2 separate regions of the Homo sapiens genome follow, and region 2 is linked to region 1. Evidence: promoter capture Hi-C in human tissues and cell types (Jung and others, 2019). All regions are on one chromosome and are shown on one strand. The core of a region is centred on a gene start or on the middle of the fragment in contact, and the rest is flanking DNA. Distances in the headings are between cores, read along the strand shown.

Evidence for each region. The method cuts DNA at HindIII sites, captures the fragments that hold promoters and counts their contacts. A contact is called where the count stands out against the background at its distance.
Region 2: a contact is called between a fragment that was not itself captured here and the fragment with the promoter of CHERP in region 1, in 1 of the 25 tissues and cell types used here (lymphoblastoid cells).

The regions. Positions count from the first base shown.
Region 1 is chr19:16,540,339-16,545,509 of GRCh38, forward strand. CHERP (calcium homeostasis endoplasmic reticulum protein) reads right to left here and starts at 2,099. Exons shown (of 17, transcript NM_006387.6): 1 at 2,016-2,099; 2 at 1,532-1,705. The coding sequence starts at 2,040. RefSeq lists silencers at 1,731-1,800, 1,811-2,000. The HindIII fragment of the contact is 9,580 bases long and covers 1-3,763 here.
Region 2 is chr19:16,389,140-16,393,598 of GRCh38, forward strand. It overlaps EPS15L1 (epidermal growth factor receptor pathway substrate 15 like 1), which reads right to left. Exons shown (of 24, transcript NM_001258374.3): 19 at 3,165-3,301. Among named protein-coding and RNA genes, the nearest start is that of KLF2, 67 kb to the left of the region's middle. The HindIII fragment of the contact is 3,848 bases long and covers 51-3,898 here.

The DNA.
Region 1 (5,171 bases), core at 849-3,348:
TTACAGGCACAAGCCACTGGGCCTGGCCTCCTTTCAAGCTGCTTTTTTTTTTTAGATGGAGTCTCATTCTGTCACCCAGGCTGGAGCGCAATGGTGTGGTCTCGGCTCAATGCAACCTCCAGCTCCCAGGTTCAAGCGATTCTTCTGCCTCAGCCTCTCCAGTAGCTGGGACTACAGGTGTGTGCCACCACACCTGACTAAGTTTTGTAATTTTAGTAGAGATAGGGTTTCACTATGTTAGCCAGGCTGTTCTCAGACTCCTAACCTCAAGTGATCTGCCCGCTTCAGCCTCCCAAAGTGCTGGGATTACAGGCGTCAGCCACTACGCCTGGCCTCCTTTCAAGCCTTTTCTTTTTCTTTCTTTCTTTTTTTTTTTTGAGATGGAGTCTTACTCTGTCACTCAGACTGCAGTGCAATGGCGTGGTCTTGGCTTACCGCAACCTCCACCTCCCGGGTTCAAGCGATTCTCCCGCCTCAGCCTCCCAAGTAGCTGGGACTACAGGCGCGGGCCACCACACCCGGCTAATTTTTGTATTTTTCGTAGAAACAGGGTTTCACTATGTTGGCCAGGCTGGTCTCAGACTCCTAACCTCAAGTGATCTGCCCGCCTTGGACTCCCAAAGTGCTGTGATTACAGTATGAGCCACTGCAACAGGCCTCCTTTCAAGCTGTTTAATCGAACACCAACTGTGTGTTATGTATTAAGGGACAATGACCTTGTACCTTAATACAAGACGAGCGTGTAGTCCCCTGAACTACACGCTCGCCGAAGCCAAACAGACCTTGTTTGGGTCATTGTACCTTAATACATAACACACAATTGGCGTTCGATCAAACAGCGGACAACCACCTCTCAATGTCCATCTACCTGGCAAACTCCTAGTTATTCATTTAAACAATCTAGAGACGGGGTTGGGTACTGAACGTGACAGATGTGATACCTGCCCTGAGCAGCCGCACCACCTGGTGACTATCCATTATTCAAAGGCCAGCTCTGCTTCCTAACTTTAAACTTCTTTAGAGCAGGACTGGAATCCTGTTGCCTAAATGAACGAACATTGATAAACACTTGCCAATAACTAAAACTCAGAGGGATAATTCTTTTTGATTTCTGCTGCAGGCATCTGAAATGCACAAAACCTTGCTGGACCCACAGGGAGACGGCAAAGGGGGCTGGACAGTGCCTGTCCCATGGACTCCCATCCGGCCTCTATCACTTCCTCCCTAGAAAACACTAAAACAATCACGCTACTCCTGCTAATCTCCGTCATCAGTCTGCAAAACAACAGCAAAATCCCTGATCCAGAGCCCAGGGGGGAGGATCGAAAACCTCGTTGTTCTCCATTACAGTGGCACCCAGCAGCCGCTCTGTGCAGGGCCGTGGGAACAGCGGAACAGGGATCGTGTGGACCGAGCTGCTCCACTTCAAAGAATAAACGACCCGAAAGAAAGAGGTTTGTGGCAGAGCCCGGACTGGAATCCGAGAAAGGAAGCGCTCGATGGGACGGCCTGAGTGCCGGAGGGGACTCACGCTGCTGCTGCTCCAGCGCCAGCTTGCACTTGTAGTAACTGTAGAATTCGCCTCCGAAAAGAAACGAGAATTTGGGGTTGTCCTTCTGCTTCTCCATAGTCATCTTCTCAAACTCGGGCCCATTGCGAGCCACGAACTGGGCGAGCTTGTCGATGACATTTCGAAGCTCCTGGTCTGGAGGACGGAGAAAAGGCCACGCGGGGCGTCAGCGAGGACCGCCCAAAGCCGGGGGACTCGGCGCCCCAGCCCCCGTCCGCCTTGCCGGGGACCCCAAGGGGGTGGGCCCCGAAGAGGCCGCCCTTGTACGGGTCCCGATAGGGGCCACACGCTCGCCGGGAATGCGGGGACCCACGGGAGAGGCCGCAGGCGAAGCCGCGAGGCCGAGCCCCGCCCCCTCCCAGACCCGGGGACTCCGGGAGGCGGGGCCGGCCAATAGGAGGTTCCGGGGAGAGAGAAACGGTCTCTCGGCCGGTTTGGGTCTCACCATCGGGGGGCAGCGGCATCTCCATGGCTCCGGCCGCGGGGAACGTCCTCCGGCGCCACACGATCGACCACCAGCGCCGTCTGCGGAAGCCGGCCGGAAGTGGCGCGAGGGAGCCGTTTACGGCGGGCTTCTAGGGCCGCTTCCGCCCGCCACTTACGGCCGTCGCTGGGAAACTCCGGAAGTGAGAGCGGGAGGCAGGCGGGAAGAAGCCGCGCGATGCCTGGCGCGCGGGAGGGGCTAGCGACGCGCACGCGCAGAAGTTTCCTGACACTTTCGCAGAGTGGGTCCCCGTCGCGCGGCGCCGCGGAAAGGCTGGAACGGCGCGGGTGGGTGTTAGTCGAGACCGGGGGGCGCGGGGCGTGCCCCTTGGTCGGCGTCGCAGCCCGATGGGCTGGCTGGTTGCTACCTCCGGGCGACCAGGGGCCTGGGGACTTCGTGCCTGGGCCAGGGTCTCTTTCCTTTCGCGGGCACAGTGAGGAGACTGCGAGGTGAGGTGCGTCCGGGTGGATCCCGGGCTGCGGCGACTGTCACATTCTCCCCGGCCAGACCGGAGGTGGAGCAGAACTGGGGGCGACGAGCTTGACTGGGATTGCAGCTGGACGTATTTAGGTTCAAAACATCCTCCTCCTGGCTTTCTTCCGCTCCACTCTTTGGTCAGGAAGACTGGGGCGGGGTACCCCCCAACCCATGCCCTCAAATTGCTGGCCTAGAGGGCACAGCGCCTTTCTAAAAGCTGCAGTTGGGTTGCCTCTAAAATAATGAAGCTAACCCTTGCTAATTGTGGGGAAAAGATAGCCAGAAGCAGCAAATTTCTGCTGTGGACGTCCGATATAAACTGATCCTCTTGAGATGGTTAATGCTTAGTTGGCTATACCTGCCCCCCGCCCCCGCCGCTTTTTTTTCCTTTATCCGTTTTTTTTTTTCTTTTTTCTTGAGACAAGGTCTTGCTCTGTGGCCCACGCTGGAGTGCAGTGTCATGATCATAGCTCACTAGCCCTGAACTCCTGTGCTCAAGTAATCCTCCCGCCTCGGCCTCCCAAAGTGCTAGGATTATAGGCATGAGCTACTTTACCCAGCCTGTTTTTTTCTGTGCAAATAAATGCACATGTATTTTAGATTAGTTTCATTTTTATTGTTAACAGCATTTTTCCACCAGATGCTTATGGATTGACAACTCTACATCAAGTGTTGCTGTAGGCTAGGAATCAACAAAACTTTTTGTATAAAAGGGACAGAAAGCAAATATTTTAGACTCTGCAGGTCAGGAGGCAAGATCAAGGATTTTTTTTTTTCTAAATGTCCTCTAGTTCATATTTTCTCATGAAGATCGAGGATCTTAATTGTTTGGTTTTTTTTTTTTTTTGAGACACAGTCTTGCTCTCTCTCGCCCAAGCTGGAGTGCAGTGGTGTGATCTCGGTTCACTGCAACCTCTGCCTCCCGTGCTCAAGCAATTCTCCTGCCTCAGCCTCCAGGGGAGCTGGGACTACAGGTGCGCACCACCACGCCCGGCTAATTTTTGCATTTTTAGTAGAGATGGGGTTTCACCAGGTTGGCCATGCTGGTCTTGAACTCCTGACCTCACATGATCTGCCTGCCTTGGCCTCCCAGACTGCTGGGATTACAGGTGTGAGCCACCCTACCCAGCCTTATTTAGGTATTTCTATAACCAGAAAGAAAAGTTCATAAAATTTTTGTTGGTGAAAATCAAAATATGATAACTGAGTAGTTTCTTAAATACAAGTTGCTACAGTTTGAATGTTTGTTCCTAATCCCCAGTGAAACAGTATTAAGAGGTGGAGCCTTTAAGAGGTGATTGGGTTATGAGGTCGTGCCATTCATGTGTTAATGGATAAATAGGTTATCATGGGAGTGGGACTGGTTTGGAGCTTGCAGTGAGCTGAGATTGCACCACTGCACTCCAGCCTGGGCGACAGAGTGAGACTCCATCTCAAAAAAAAAAAATAAATAAAATAAATAAAATAAAATAAAAAGAGGAAGAAAGGCCAGGCTCAGTGGCTCATGCCTGTAATTCCAGCACCTTGGGAGGCCAAGGCACGCAGATCACCTGAGGTCAGGAGTTCGAGACCAGCCTGGCCAACATGGAGAAATCCCATCTCTACTAAAAATACAAAAATTAGCCGGGCATGGTGGCGGATGCCTGTAATCCCATCTACTTGGGAGGCTGAGGCACGAGAATCACTTGGACCCAGAAGGCAAAGGTTGAGGTGGAGGTTACAGTGAGCCAAAGTCGTGCCACTGCACTCCAGCCTGGGCAACAGAGCAGGACTCCGTTTCAAAAAAAAAAGGAAGAGAGACCTGAGCTTGCACACAGCCTGCTAGCCATGTGATGCCCTGTGCTACCTCAAGACTCTGCAGAGTCCCCACCAGCAAGAAGGCCCTTGATTTTGGATATCTCAGCCTCCAGAACTGTAAGAAATAAATTTCTCTTCTTTAAAAATTGCCCAGTCTCAGGTGTTCTTTTATAGCGATGCAAAATGGACTAAGACCCAAGTCTATTCATAAGAGTGGAATTCTTTTGGGGGATAACATTTCACTTAATTGGGGCTCCCAGTTGTATTTCCTGTCGTCAATTGATGGTACATGTTCACCTTTGAAAAACCTTCCTGGCTCACAAAAACAGGCGGCCAGTTGGATGTGGTTTATAGATACGGTCATGCACAACTCAGATCTCAGCTCTGCTCTCAGGGGACTCAGTCTATGGCGGGGAAGAGTCCCAAAATCAGTAAACAAATATATCATCTCAAAGGTGTTATTAAGAAGAGGATGCTGAGACTATGATACAAGGGAGGGTGAGGCCCAGGCTGATAGGGTTGTCAGGAAAGGCTCTCGAGGTGAGGTCTGCACTATGATCTGAACAAGGGGCCAGCTCTAAACACCCTAAACAGGCAGAGAGAACAGTGTGGGATCATACTGTTTATTTAAAAAATATTTTTTATTTTTTATTTTTTTTGAGATGGAGTTTCACTCTTGTTGCCCAGGCTGGAGTGCAATGGCGTGATCGCGGCTCACCACAGCCTCCGCCTCCCGGGTTCAAGCAATTCTCCTGCTTCAGCCTCTCGAGTAGCTGGGATTACAGGCATGCGACACCACACCCGGCTAGTTTTTTATTTTTAGTAGAGATGGGGTTTCTGCCT
Region 2 (4,459 bases), core at 725-3,224, 150 kb before region 1:
TTGGAAAAAAAAAAAGAAAAGAAAAGAATAATAGCTGGGTGAAGTGACTCAAGCCTGTGATCCCAGCACTTTGGAGGGGCTGAGGCAGGAGGATTGCTTGAGCCTAGGAGTTTGAGACCAGCCTGGCCAACATATGGAAATCCCATCTCTACAAAAAATAAAACAATAGCTGGGTGTGGAGGTACATGCCTGTGGTCCCAGCAACTTGGGAGGATGAGGTGGGAGAACTGCTTGAGCCCAGGAGGTTGAGGTTGCAGTAAGCCAAGATCACACCACTGCACTTCAGCCTGGGCAACAGAGTGAGACTCTGTTTCAAAACTAAAAATAAAAAAATGACAACACAGTCGACCTGAGCTATAAGAAGTGCTAAAGAAAGTTCTTTAGGCTGAAGGAAAATGATAATGGAGGGAAAACCAATCTTCAGTAACAAATGAAGAGTATCAGAAATGGTACATATTTGGGTAAAACTAAATGACTACTTTTTTCCTCTTTCTTTACAATACCCACAATGGATTAATACAAAAATTGTAACAGTCTTATGGAGTTTCTAATGTATTTAGATGTATGAAATTCACATGACGGCTATAACATAAGACATGCTGGCTGCAAGGGTGGGTGGACAAATGGACCTACATGGTTGCAAGTTTTCTATATTTTACATGAGATAATACAATACTAACCTCAAGTAGACTATGAAAAGTTAAAGCTGTACATGATATTTCCTAAAGCAACCTCTAAACAATCATTAAAAGAGGTATGATTAAAATAATAAAAGGCCAATAGACAGAATTCAAAAAAACATTCAAACAATTCAAAAGAAAGCAGGAAACAAAACATGGGATAAAAAGCAAGCAAATAATAAAATAGTAGACTTAAACCATATCAATAATTACATTAAATGTTAATGGACTAAACATTACACTTACAAGGCAGGGACTTCTGACTGGATTTTAAAAAAAAAAGCAAGCCCCAACACTATGCTACTTACAAAAGACACCTATCAGTTTTAAAGATCCAGGTAAGTTGAAAGTAAATGGTTGAAAAATGATGTATCATGTAGTGAATAACATGAGGAGAATGAAGTGATTAAACAGACTTCAAGACAAAGAACATCACCAGAGATCAAATGGGAATCTTTTATAATGATAAAAAGGTTGTTGTGTCAGAAAGACACAACAATCATAAACACCTATGCACCTGACAAAGCTTCAAAATACACAAAGCAAAACTTGATCAAATTAAAGTGCAGTATGAACAATTCCACAATCATAGGAGAATGTTTAACGCCTCTCTCTCAGACACTGGTAGGACTAAAAAACAAACAAACAAGACACAGATAATCTGAACACTATGAGGAACCTCAACCTCACTGCCATTTGTAGAGCATTACACCCAACAACTAGATACACATTCTTCTCAAGTGTACATGGTTTGTTCACCAACATAGGCCACAAACAACAACCCTTGATTAATGTGAAGGTATTGAAAACATACAGAATATGTTCTCAAATAACAAATTTAATTAAAAATCAATAATAATAGTATTATAATATACCTAGGAGAAAAAGCCAAGTATCTGGAAATGAAACAACATACTTTTAAGTAATCCATAAGTGAACAGAATTCACAAGGGAAACTGGAAAATATCTCAAAACTGAATGGCAATGAAGAGATAAAGTATTCAAATATATGAAATACATGTAAAGCAGTGCTTAAGGGAAATATGTTGCTTTAAATTTATACAGATGCTCCTTGACTTACCATGGGGTTACATCCTGATAAACCCATTGTAAGTTGAAAATATTTTAAGTTGAAAATGTACGTAATATCCCAATAAACCCATCACAAAGCAAAAAATCAGAAGTCAAACCAATGTTAAGTCCAGACACTCCTTGACTTATGATGGGACTGCATCTCGATAAAACTATTGTAAAGTCAAAAAACTGTAAATTGAACCATCGTAAGTCAGGGACCGCCAGTACTAGAAAATGAAGTCTAAAATTAATGAATGAAGCTTGGATCTTAAGATGTTAGAAGAGCAAAGTAACCCCAAATAAATAGGAGTAAGGAAATGGAAAAAAATAGAAATAGAAAAGAGAAAATCAATGAAATAGAAAACAAGCAGTAGAGAAAAATGAAGCCAAAAGCTGGTTATGGGAAAGGTCAATGAAATTGGTAAACAGATCACCAATACCAGGAATGCTAGGGAAATTCTCACTACAGGTCTTAAGGACATTAAAAAGGGGCCAATAAGAAAATACTGCAAATGAGTCTTTGCCTTCAAGGAGCTTCAAGCGCTAAAGACCAAAAGGTCCACAGGGAGTGAGCGAGGTGGGCGCCAGGGTAGCAGGAGCCCTGAGAAGGAGGGTGAGTGCCCGTCTCTGAGCAGGCCCCGGGCCTGGGTTGCAGCCTAGAAAACGGAAGAAGGCTATGAAGCACGCTCACTCCATCATGAACATCCTCTGCTCCATCACCGAGGCTGCTTTTTTTTTTTTTTTTGGTTTTGAAATCCAAGTTGACACCTATTTAACCCAATCTCTTGGGCATAATATGCAAAATACCCGGTGTCTGCCACGCCCGGGGATGGGAGTACAGGTATGCTGGAGTTGGAAACTGGAGGGTCAGAGTTGGCTGATGCTCTCAGGAGACACCAGGCAAGGCAGCCGGGCTGAGACGCCTGCACTTACTCCTGCCGTGACGGGAGCACCTACCAAACGTGACTCTAAGGTCCCCACCAGTGCTGTGTGTTACAAGGACCGTGCAGGGTGGCCGGGTCCATGCGAGCATGTGGTGCTTGTGTGATTTAGTCTTTTTTGGGAGATGAAGGGGCAGTGGGGGCAGATGACTAGAGTTGAGGGGTAGGAATGGGGATAGAGAAATAAGAACTATGGGTGACATCCTCCTTGCCCTGATGTGGGGCCACTGGACTGCTAACTGCACCTTGGGGCTCACAGGATGTCACTGCAGTGACTAGGCCAGTGAGCTCCCTCACTCAGCAGGAATGAAATCAGCCTGGGATACCAGCTCCCGGAGAACAGACACCATGGCCCACACTCGCAGGCACCATGTACGCTCCACGAAGGGAAGGGGGCCTTCGGGAAGCGCCACCCTTACCACACAGAGCAGGCACGCAGCTCTCCCGGGCAACGTCCCACCCCACTCACCTTCGAAGGTAAGGAAGGGTTTTTCGTGAATGGATCCGAGGTAAATGGGTCATTCTTTGTCTGTTTCTTGAAGAAGTCGTCAGTGGCAGAGCCACGGAATGGGTCACTTTCTTTGAAAGGGTCCCCTCCAAATGGATCTAGAAGGAAAAATGCCCCATAAGTAAACATTATACCAAGTGAAAGAACCCAGACATAAAAGAACACATCACAGAATGATGCCGTTTACATGAAATTCTAGAAAGGTAAGAACGCTAGTGACGGAAAACAGGATAATGGTGGCCAGGGGACCCTGAGGAGAGGGTGGAGGGTGACAACAAAGGGGCCTCAGGAATGACAGAAGTGTTCTCAAATTGCACACAACCGTGCATATTTAATGAAACTCATCTTATTACATAGTAAAATGGGTGAATTTTGTTCTGTGTAAATTATGCCACTCAATAAAATTGACTTTAAAAATAATAATATCCTGGCCAGGCACAATGGCTCATGCCTGTAATCCCATCACTTTAGGAGGCTGAGATAGGAGGATCACTTGAGGCCAGGAGTTCAAGACCAGCATGGGCAACACAGAGAAAAATAAAATAAAAAATTAGCCAGGTGTGGTGGCACACGCCTGTAGTATCAGCTACTAAGGAGGCTGAGGCAGAAAGGCTGCTTGAGCCCAGGAGGTCAAGGCTGCAGTGAGCTATAATTGCGCCACTGCACTCCAGCCTAGGCAATAGAGTAAAACCCCATCTCTAAATAAATAAATAAAATATCCTGCAGGAGCTGGATATAATAATAATAATAATAATAATAATAATAATAATAATAATAATAATAAACAACGCAGGTAAATCCATAGAGACAGAAAATAGGTTGGTGGGTGCCAGGGGTTGCGGGAGGGAATGGGGAGTGACTGCTGATTGGGATGGGGTCTCCTTTTGGGGGGATGAGAATGTTGTGGAACTAGATGAAGGTGATCATTGCACAACACTGTGAGTGTGCTCAATACCACTGAATTGGATGCTTTAAAACAGTGACTTTTATGTTACATAAATTTCACCTGAAAAAAAATAAATCGGTCGGGCATGGTGGCTCACGCCTGTCATCCCAGCACTTTGGGAGACCAAGGTGGGCAGATCACCTGAGGTCAAGAGTGTGAGACGAGCCTGGCTAACACGGTGAAACCCCGTCTCTACTAAAAATACAAAAAATTAGCCGGGCGTGGTAGCGGGCGCCTGTAGTCCCAGCTACTTGGGAGGCTGAGGCAGGAGAATGGCGTGAACCCGGGAGGCGGAGCTTGCAGTGAGCCG